2 separate regions of the Homo sapiens genome follow, and region 1 is linked to region 2. Evidence: promoter capture Hi-C in 16 types of primary human blood cells and fetal thymus (Javierre and others, 2016). All regions are on one chromosome and are shown on one strand. The core of a region is centred on a gene start or on the middle of the fragment in contact, and the rest is flanking DNA. Distances in the headings are between cores, read along the strand shown. Region 1 holds the start of LOC107987176 (a long non-coding RNA gene). Region 2 holds the start of PIWIL1 (piwi like RNA-mediated gene silencing 1).

Region 1 (5,258 bases), core at 1,077-3,576, 2.1 Mb before region 2:
GACAAGGACTTATCTTCACATACACACTTGTTTTAGGGGATAGGAATACAGGGGTGAGCACGTCAGACATTGTCCCCTCATGGAGTTGACATGGAACGAGGAATGAGCAAGCAAACAAATAAAGGAACAAGGGCAGACAGCGAATGGCCCCCAATAAATGTTCCCTAAATATATTTTCATTAGATGGAATAAAGGCTGGAATCTTTATCCACACGGAGAGAGGAAGAATGTATTATTTCTACATTCCACACCTCTGACTCCTCTCTACCTTAGCCAGACTTAGACCTGGAGTTAATGAAAGAGGGGATGACATATGGCTTACGGTTCGTACCAATGCAATACTCAATTTGCCTTAGGGTTGGTGGTCATAAACTGGCCCGGCTCCTTCCAGGGGGTGCAGAGAGCTGATTTTCAATGTATGGGCTGTCACATACCAGCAAGTGGCTTAATCTCCTCTATGAGCCTCAGTTTCCTCATCTGTACCAATGTACCAACCAAGGTCACTCACCCCCTCTCTTCCTCACCTCCATAAAGAGAACCCTCAGGTACCCAGTTGTTTGGGCCAAAACAGTGGCCTCTTCTTTCCCTCCCACAGTCCACACCCATCCATCAGCACATCCTGCTGGCTTCACTTCCACTAGGCATCATTAACTGGTCCTTGTCTCGACTTCACAGCTTTGCTCCTCTTACTCCAGTGCAAGCATCCAAGACTCCTGGGTGCCTTGAACCAGCTCTTAATTAGACTTCAGGCTTCCTTGGCTACTCCTATAGGCTGTGGTCTACAATTGGCCAGAGTGATCCTTCTGAAAGAAAAATAAGACCTTTCAGGACTCCAGCTTAGTGTCTTTGCACTTTCATTTTTATCAGCCTGAGAAGCTCTTTTCCCAAAAATTGCTCTCACTTCACCCACCTTCCTAAAGTTGCACCCCCAAATCAGACTTTTCCCTTATTTTGCTTTATTTTTGTTCACAACACATATCACTGCATTAACAGATACAATTACTTGTATATTACTTTAGAGTCTGCATCCTCCACTAGAATGTAAGGTCCATGAATTTAGGACTCTCGTCTATTTTGTTCACTGGCAAAACCCCAAAATTTGGGCCTGACAAATAGTAAGCAAGTGACACCTATTTGTTAAATGAATGAATGAATGAATAAAATGTCCAAGGATAATAATAATACACCCCACGAGTGTGAAGAGGATTAAATCAGATAGTGCCTATATGTTTTAAGAACAATGACAGGACACAGAACTAAGCATAGACCTTTCTATCATTTTTCTCCCTTTTTTCCTTCTTCCTCATTTTTTAATCGCTAATAGTAAGCACCATAGTCAGGACTTGATACTCAGTTTGCGGGATGACCATAGCTGTTTCATGAGGCCAACATATAGCCTTTCTTTTCCATGTCCTCGGCAATATATACCCATATGTCCCGTCTACAGGTAGACAATGCAAGAAGCCTTTGAACTAAAATCACAAGTTCCACCCCTCATTTTATGCGATATTCACAATTTAACATTTAAGCATGAACAAAACAATCTGAAGTTGCCTCATTGACTTAGGAACCCTGAAACCCTGTGGAAGCAGCAGGTTTCCTCTTTCCAATCATTCTCCTCTCCCATAAATTATGTTAAGTGCTTCCATGTGCCCACAGTCCTTAAGGAATTCTGCAACAGCCTTTGAGGAGATTAGAAGCCTCTGATGTTCCTTATGAAATTCAGAAAACCATCTGGAAGTAATCTAAGTTAAGGAATTAATGATTTGGGGGTTAAATGATACATGACTTAAAAAAAATAAATACAGAAAACTTTATTAGCCCATGAACCTCAATTTTTGTGGATTTACCTATGAAAGAGAAATTGACTATATCATCTGTTTTATTTGTTTGTTCAGTTTTGTGTGCATGTTTGTTTGACTGCTCTTGAGAGGGACACGCAATAGATTAAATGGAGTCCTAAAGGAAGGTTTGCAGAGAAGCTTTCATTTGCTGGGTCTCCTGAAGGCTCTCACAGGGGATGCCCGGAGGCATCATAGTCTCAAGGGGCATCTGTGATTCAGGATCACCTGAAGACAGTGGCTGCCTTTGGGGTGCTGTGCAGTGAGCTTATCTGATTGAGAATCCTTTCCCCACTCCAACCCCATGTTGAATTAGTATTTATTTTGCTGTGGCTTGTTTGGTAGCCCCTGGTTTTGATTATTTGCATCACAGAGATGTAGTCCAGGACCTGACTTGTCTTTGCAGTAGGGACAGCAATGTTCTGTGCCAAAAGGAAAGAAATGATGTGGAAAGAAGGTACATTATGAGGCTGCATAGAACAGGGGAGTGGAGGGCACTTCTTTGGGTTTTTATTTTTTGTCCCTGTTATCCAATAGGGAGGAGAGAGGATAAGGCAGATTCCCATCCTCAGTTACAAACAATGGGACATGTGTATTTCTCCCTCATGCTGGGAACATTTAAATGAAAAAAAAATTATTCCCCGGTGATGTTCAGGCTCAAAGCACTGAGAATAAAACGTACCTTCCGTTTTAGGAGCCCAAATCTACTTTACAACTGCCCCCTGCCCCCAAGGTCAGGTCTACACTAGCTGAATGTACTGAAGAATTGGGCGATTATCAGCATAATCCACTTTAAAAATCAAGTCTCTGCTATCCAGGCCTATGAGAATCAAGCTTTTACCGTTCCCTTTGGGGCCTGGATAGTTTTCAAGCTGCCTTCTCCTCACATCATGTGAGTAGAGCCGGCCAAGAAAACCAGGGAGACATCTCCCCCCAGCCTGGCCCAGACTTCCGGGCCCCACCCCAGGAGAGAGCCTCCCACTCTGGCCAGTGCCCTGCAAAGCCTTCGCCCCACCCCGCCCCAATTTCTCCTTATGCCTGGCTCATTCCTTAGGGGCTGAGTTGGGAGATAAGACTTGGGGTTGCAGTTGCTGGGGATCATTCGTTTACATTTCTTTTCTTTCAATCAAGGACTTCTTTTTTTCTTTTGAAATTCTTTCCTGCACTGATGGTGAGAAAAGACCCCTCAGGCTTCCTTTTGATGTTGGACCGAGCCAGCCCACGGTGAGAGGGGATGCTGAGCCCGTGGTGAGGAGCTCAGGACAGGAGGGGACGTCCAGAGACCTCCGAACCCATGGCCCTTCATTCCCAGTCACAAGGGGGGAGTCGGGGTCCCGCCCTCAAACTGCTCAGACCACGCGTGGCAGAAAGAGCAGAGCATGAGCATCAGGAACCGCACAGGGAAGCCGCTGAGATCACCTGGGATCACCACCATGAGGGAGGCCAGCCCTGGAGAAATCAGAGGGAAAAGATAGAGAGAACGAAGTCGGGGGGGGGGGGGGGAGGGCGGATCTTCCTTGTCTGAGTCTGCAGAGAAATTGCCTATTGCAGGAGCAAGTCTAGAGAGGGGCTATTCTCCACCCACTGAAAAGATAATAAAACACATGCTATGGGCGGCGGGGAGATGATTGGGGAGTGGAAGCCCCACAGACATGCAGTGAAAAATGATCCTTTCTTCCCCTCTGCGTTCTCGTCCCCTTCCCAGAGACACCGCTGTGATCTCGTGCCTCGCCCCCTCCGCACACGCACAGGTGCACACCCGCATCTGTCTTGAGCCCGCACCCCGCCTTCACGCTCCGCTGCGCGCTGCTTTTCCGCGCTCAGTGATCCAGTTAGGAGCTCTCCCCGCAGCAGCTGCGCGGGACTTTGCATTCCAGATGTCCCCAGCCCTCCAGGCTAAAGCAGCGGCCACCTGAAGTTGAGGAATGGGGCGTGACGACCACCAGGTCCCGCAGTGACCACGGGAGGGTGGGGAGAAGGAGTCCAGCTCCGCCTTGAGCGTCGGGTCCCTGGGCAGGACCCTCCGGGCCACGGGCCGCTGTCCGTTGGGCACCCGGGCAGGAGTCTGCGAACGCTGAGTTTCTCTGGAAAGGCGCGGACCCCCGGAGGAGCCGTCCCAGCCGCCTGGGGAGACGCCCCCTCCTCTCCCGGTCTTCTTTCCCGGGCACACCCTCCCTAGCCCGGGCGGGGGGGTTCTCCATCTGCCGCCCCTCCCGGCGGGCAGGCGAACTCTCTCCTACCGCACCCTCAATCTGTCCGCGGTCGCGGGGCTCGGCGGGGGCGGGGCCCGGGCGGGGGCGGGGGCGGGGCCGGGGGCGGGGCGGGCCGGCGGCTGCGGAGGCTGCGGAGGCTGCGGGAGAAAAGTTGTCCCGGCCGGAGCGCGAGCAGCGGCGGAGCCGGAGCCGCCAGAGCCAGAGCCGGAGCTGCGGCGGCGTGGACCCGGCAGGGGCGGGCCTCGGACAGCAGAGACGCAGCGGGCCCGGCCGACCGGGCTGCGGGAGTGGCCCCGGGCATGGGGCGGCCGGCGGGGGCCGCGGGCGGGCGCTGCGCTTCGGGCTGGCGGCGGGCTGCGTGAGCGGCCGGGACGCAGGATGCGCTCCGAGGGTGCGGCCCCCGGGCCGGCGGCGCCGCTGTGCGGGGCGCTGAGCCTGCTGCTGGGCGCGCTGCTGGGCAAAGGTAAGGCCGGGGCGGGTGCCTGGCGCGCCGACGCATGCGAACTTCCCGGTTCCGGGGGAGCTCGGGGTGAGGGCAGCCGAAGCGAGGGGTGCGGCGGGGGCCTCGGCGGGGGCTCGGATCCCATCAACAGCGCCTCTGCGGGTGCCGAGCCGCCCCTAATCCAGAAGGGCGCTCCCAGCTGGGCGCCGGGATCCGGGCAAGTTAGGCTGGTCCCGAGTCCCGAATCTCCCACCCCGGACCCCCCAGACCCAGAGCTGCCCCGCGGATGAGGAGGGGGCGTGGCTGAGGGACACGGTGTTTGTTCCCCATCCCTGAGTTCCGTGCGGACCTGCCCCAGCCCCAGCACAGTCACCCTGTGGAACTGGCATCCAGGAGAGGTGCTCCGCTCTGTGCGCTCCTTCCTCCCGGCTGTGTGCTCCCTGTCCACAGCTCCCCATCCACAGCTTCGGCACTGTGGGGCTGGTGCTCCAGGAGGGAAGGCCCGGTTCTTTGCATCCCCTTTCCGCAACCGCTAGGGTCTCTGTGCGGGCCCTAGAGGAACGCTCACTCATCGCGCAGCTCACCAGGGACCCCAGCTTGGCAGAAACCAGGGGCTCTCTGCGGGTTCTCTCAAATGAGTCCTTTGCGGTGGGGGAGCGCGGATGGGGAGGTGGGTGCGTCCCTCGCGACGGGAACTACCTCACCAGCGGTCCTGTCCGGGGCTCCTTCACCTCAGTGTCCTCTTCTCTACAATGGGAGTGA
Region 2 (5,427 bases), core at 997-3,496:
TAGTGTAAGGTGCATTCACGGTATTTTTCTCCCGAGTTGAGGCTGTAAACATCTATTTCTTGTTTTATGGCTCCATCTGCTGGCAGGTCTCAGAATGTCTTTCTCATCAACACCTTAAATCCTTGGAAAAGTTATGTTCACATTGTATTCCAAAAGGCACCATTTAGTTTTTACAAAGCGAAAGCCTTTGGAAAGCTATTTTTCTTTCAAACTACTGGCTTCCAACGCCTTTTGGCCTCGCCCCAAATTTATTAGCCTTCTCTGAGCATAAGAATAACTTGATGTTACTTCTTGAAATTCCTTGCACCCGTCCCAGACCTCCTGGAATCAGCGTGATCTGGGAGTCTGTATTATTTGGAAGTTCCCTCAGTGGATGCTTACACTCAGGCTAGTGTGGGAAACGCTGACATCTAACCTGCCCCTTTCATGGCACAGATGAGACGTAGGATTTGGGAAGGTGGCTTGGGGAGCCTTCAGCCCTCTCCAGCCCCCGATTCCCAGGCATGCGCTTTTAAGTATGAATAATAAGCAATATGTAGGCCGGGCTCTGTGGCTTATGCCTGTAATCCCTGCACATTGGGAGGCCAAGATGGGTGGATCACTTGAGCCCAGAAGTTTGAGACCGGCCTGGGCAACATGATGAAACCCTCTTTCTACAAGAAATACAAAAAAATTAGCTGGGTGTATTTCTCGTATTTCTACAAGAAATACAAAAAAATTACTACAGGTGGCACACACCTGTAGTACCAGCTACAGGGGAGGCTGAGGCAGGAGGATCACCTGAGCCCAGGAGGTCGAGGCTGCAGGGAGCCATGATCCCACCATTGCACTCCAGCCTGACAGAGCCAGACCCTGTCTCAAAACAAAACAAAGAACACAAAATTATGTGGGCATGGTGGTGGGTGCCTGTAGTCGCAGCTACTCAGGAGGCTGGGAGACGGAGGTTGCAGTGAGCCAAGATCCTGCCACTGCACTCCAGCCTGGGCGACAGAGTGAGACTCCGTCTCACAAAAAAAAAAAAGGAAAAGCACTATGTTTACCGTATAAATGCAGTTTTAAAACCTGTCTGCAGAGGCGACCCTATTTCTACTACCTCCTACAATCATGTTTATAGTTATGGAACATAACAGGTCAGGCAGTTAGTGAGCCTCAGTCCCACTTCCACCTTGACAAATAAACCTGTTCTATCTTACAATATTTCCGGTTGTTTTGTGGCTGTTGACTTTGCCTCCATGAGGAAATTAACTCCTATGGAGGGCACCTAGCTCGGCGTAGACCCGGTCGCTACCACCTGCGATGCCTTGGAAATGCAGCCGGCGGGGCCCACCTGTGGAGCCTGCAGACCGGAATCTCTGGTCTGTGTCCTAACCAGCCCTGCAGGTGATCCCCCGCAGGTGAAGGCTGAGAACCCCTGCGGTCCACGTTGGCATGCACCCAAGGCACAAGTCATTGAAAGCTAAATTTCCAGGTAACGGCCTCCTGGCACCTTAGACTTGCATTGCAGTTTTATTTTCTTTGGGGTCAAAGTTCAAATCTCTGTGTGCTGAGTGAAAGAGCTTCCGACGTTAAAGGCCAGACCAAGATCGAGTCCACTGCTACAGTAGGGCGCTCGGTGCCCACGTGGGCACCATTTCGAAGTCTATGGAGGGTCTACTTCGTGCGCCGCCGCCCAGTTCCACGAGCTAGTAGGGAACTGGCCCGACCCCGTGTCCGCCTGCAGGGGGCTGGCACTGGGGGAACTGCAGGAGTCAAGCCAGGGAAGGCCGGGGGTCTGGGCGAAGCAGAAGAGGAACAGGGCGGGGCCTGGGTGGGGCTGGCCGGGGCCTGTGGGGAGGGGGCAGGGCACGTGTTGGGTGTCTGGGCGGGGCCAGGCGGGGTCTTGGGGGGACAGGGGCGGAGCCTGTGGGGCGGGGGCGGGGCCTGTGGGGGCCTGGGCGTGGCGTCTAGGCAGGGCCAGGCGGGGTCTTGGCGGGATGGGGGCGGGGCCTATGGGGAGGGGCCAGGGCATGTGCGGGGTGTCTGTCCGGGGCCAGGCGGTGTCTTGGGGGGCCAGGGGCAGGGCCTGTGGGGCGGGGCGGGCCTGGCTTGTTGGGCCTGTGCCGGGTGTCCGGGAGGGGCCAGACGGGGTCTTGGAGGGGCGGGGCCGGGGCCTGTGGGGCGGGGCTCCTCTGGTCCCGCCCCGGCCACATCAGAAACCGCCGTTTGCGGGGCAGCCAATGAGGGCGTGGCGCGCGCCGCTTTCCGCCGTTACTGGGCGTATGGCGTACAGACACGAGGCCGGCGCCCGGGAGGCGGTGTTCATCCGCCCGGGAAAAGAGCGCCTGTTGCTCGCTGCCCGCGTGTCCCTGGCTCTCTCGGGAACCCAGCGCCGAAGGCGAGGTGGGCGCGGGCCGAAGGAGGTCCTGGGAGGTCGGCGGCGCGGAGGGATCTCCGCGGGAGCCGTTGGGGCTGTTGGCCTCGGGCTGAGGTGCAAGGACCAGGACTAGGGCGAGGGCAGCGGTCCAAGGTGCGGGGCCAGGCTGAGGTGCTAGGTGTGCGGGGGCCGGGATGCGGGGGCGGCGGCTGGGGGTCCGGGATGTGGAGGTGAGGCTCGAGGTGCGGGGACCGGGTTGCGGGGGCGAGGTCCCAGGTGCGGGGGATGCAGGAGCCGGGTGCGGGGTCGAGGTCCCAGGTGCGGGAGATGCAGGAGCCGGGTGCGGGGGCGAGGTCCCAGGTGTGGGAGATGCAGGAGCCGGGTGCGGGGGCGAGGTCCCAGGTGCAAGGGATGCAGGAGCCGGGTGCGGGGGCGAGGTCCCAGGTGCGGGAGATGCAGGAGCCGGGTGCGGGGGCGAGGTCCCAGGTGTGGGAGATGCAGGAGCCGGGTGCGGGGGCGAGGTCCCAGGTGCGGGAGATGCAGAAGCCGGGTGCGGGGGCGAGGTCCCAGGTGTGGGAGATGCAGGAGCCGGGTGCGGGGGCGAGGTCCCAGGTGCGGGGGATGCAGGAGCCGGGTGCGGGGGCGAGGTCCCAGGTGTGGGAGATGCAGGAGCCGGGTGCGGGGGCGAGGTCCCAGGTGCGGGGGATGCAGGAGCCGGGTGCGGGGGCGAGGTCCCAGGTTTGGGAGATGCAGGAGCCTGGGGTGCAGGGGCCGGGGTGCGGGGGCGATGTATCAGGTGTGGGGGGTGCGGGGCCGGGGGGAAGCGCTGAGGCCCGACTTGCCGGGGCTGTAGGGCCGGGGTGCGGGGGTGCAGGGGCCGGGGTGCGGGGGCGAGGTCCCAGGTGCAGGGGCCGGGGTGAGAGGCTGAGGCCTGAGTTGCCGGGGGTGCGGGGGCGGAGGTCTCCGCATTGGCGGCCGTGCGTGAGACTGCGGGGACCTGAGAGCTCTGCAGGAGGGCCTTCGGGACCTCCCGCACTACCCACGCGGCCGCGGGGCGCGATCTCTGCGGAGGGCGAGGGCCCCTTCCCGCGTCCGCCGCCGCTGCGCTGCGCCCCCGGGAGCCTTGGGAGCCGGACGTTGGGAAGAGGACGGAACTCCGGAGGACCCCAAGTGAGGCGGCGACCGCGACGGCCGGGCTCTGCGAGGCCCGGGGGTCCTCGCGGGTGCTGGCGGCCCGGCCCTTGGCACCTGTGGAGGGAAAGGGGCGGCGGGGCGGTGGCGTCCTGGGATGGATGCTCTCGCCGTCTTCAGCCCCGGCGGCCTCCAGGGCAAAGCCGGCTGCACCCCTGCGCAGCCTGTTCTCTGAGCGCTTTTCTTTTCGTTTTTAAGTTGTGGCCAGAGAGACCCCGCTCGCATAGAATGTACCGCTCAACGGTTTTTAGGCGTGTGGCGCGGTGGTGGTTCCCACGTGCACGGCGTGGTCCTGAGCTCAGCGCCGGAGGGACGTTAGGTGGAAGCGTCTTTGGCAGAGCTGGTAGCGAATCGGAGAGGTGATTTCCAGCGAGTGTGGTTATTGGAAGCACACACTTGCTTTCTGACTTTAAGAATTCAATATCCAGACTGAGGTGGTTTTGAAACTGGAAGGAGATAAAGCTGAAAACCAGAGTTGTGCTGGGAAACCTGGACGTAGAGCGCTGAGCCCCCCAGGTATTTAGTGACCAGCACAGCGCGCCGCCGTGGGTTTCAGGCCCTGGAGATGATGAGAATCAGCTGGAGGGCTGCTTCCAGTCGGCTTCTAACTCGGGAGGGCTGAGAGCCGCTCCCCACCCCGTAATTTCTGTTCCCAGCCAGTCCAGATGCTGCCCGTCAGGGACCAGGCTTTGAGAACTGACGTGCTGCTTTAGGAATATTTCCTGCTGGAGATGAGAGTTCAGCTTGTCACTGTTTTTTAATCACTGTTTCACACCGTTGTTTGTAAGGTGTCAAGCGACGGACTGGGTGCAAAGGCATCAATTGTGATTCGCAGCCTAGTTGGAGAAGCTATGGAGTGCAGAGATGTGGGGAGGGAGAAAACAGGTTACCATGTAGTAGGGTGACCGTGGTCACGCCGGGGAAACGGCTTTCGGAGAAGGGAGCAAGGGATGGCCTGCGAGCTGGTCCTTAAGCGGTTCACTGGATTCTTGTGGTTTCAGAGGAGGGTGAGGCTTTGTTAGCAGAGGGTGTGCCACGGTGTAGGGTGAGTCACGGAATTGATAGTGATAGGAAGCAAGTTGTGTTTGCTGGAGTCTCAAGCGGATGCTTTCAGATTGATTTGTAGATCAGCAGTCCCCAGTCTTTTTGGCACCAGGGACCGATTTCCTGGAAGACAATTTTTCCACGGACCGGTGAGGGATGGTTTCGGGATGAAACGGTTCCACCTCGGATTATCAGGCATTAGATTCTCATAAGGAGCAGGCAGCCCAGACCCTTGGCACGCCGACTTCACAGTAGGGTTCTCACTCCTAGGAGAATCTAATGCCTCCACTGATCTAACAGGAGGTGAGCTCAGGCTGTCCTGCTCACTCACTGCGGCTCACTTCCTGCTGTGTGGCCTGGTTCCGGTACAGGTCCATGGGGCGTGGGGGTTGGTGGTGGTGGTTGGGGGAGGGGGGGTGGGGGGAGGGGGGTTGGTGGTGGTGGTGGTGGTGCTGCTGCTGCTGCTGGGGACGCTGCCTGTAGATTATCAGTAAGAGACTTTCATGCGCCAGTATGCCCCGTGTGTAAGCCGAGCATGCATACGTAATCATTGTCATGATGCGCACATTATAAAATAAATACAAAGCAGTTTAAAATGAGATTTAAAATTAGTTGTAATATGCTGGCACCTCAGCGGATTATCCTGTGTAAACTCCTTTGGAAATTGCTGATTTAGAGTCATATTGTAAGGGGTCTTATACAATGAATATTTGCTTTAATCCTGTAAAATACAATAGGAAGTCGGAGGTTTTTAAAATTGAAAAATGGCATTAGATTTATCTTTCTGTGAAGATCATGAAGCCAAGAATTTTAGAAGCTGTTAAAACTCAGAGGATGAA

What was found. The method cuts DNA at HindIII sites, captures the fragments that hold promoters and counts their contacts. A CHiCAGO score of 5 or more calls a contact.
Region 1: a contact is called between a fragment that was not itself captured here and the fragment with the promoter of PIWIL1 in region 2, in 1 of 17 cell types (naive B cells). The highest score is 5.6, in naive B cells.

What each region holds. Positions count from the first base shown.
Region 1 is chr12:128,262,971-128,268,228 of GRCh38, forward strand. LOC107987176 (a long non-coding RNA gene) reads right to left here and starts at 4,062. Exons shown (of 2, transcript XR_001749176.1): 1 at 3,601-4,062; 2 at 1-803. It overlaps TMEM132C (transmembrane protein 132C), which reads left to right and starts at 4,200. Exons shown (of 9, transcript NM_001136103.3): 1 at 4,200-4,517. The coding sequence starts at 4,433. RefSeq lists enhancers at 3,346-3,867, 4,403-5,241. The HindIII fragment of the contact is 693 bases long and covers 1,981-2,673 here.
Region 2 is chr12:130,335,641-130,341,067 of GRCh38, forward strand. It overlaps PIWIL1 (piwi like RNA-mediated gene silencing 1), which reads left to right and starts at 2,247. Exons shown (of 21, transcript NM_004764.5): 1 at 2,247-2,506. LOC101927786 (a long non-coding RNA gene) reads right to left here and starts at 600. Exons shown (of 3, transcript XR_242978.5): 1 at 1-600. The HindIII fragment of the contact is 10,112 bases long and covers 1-5,427 here.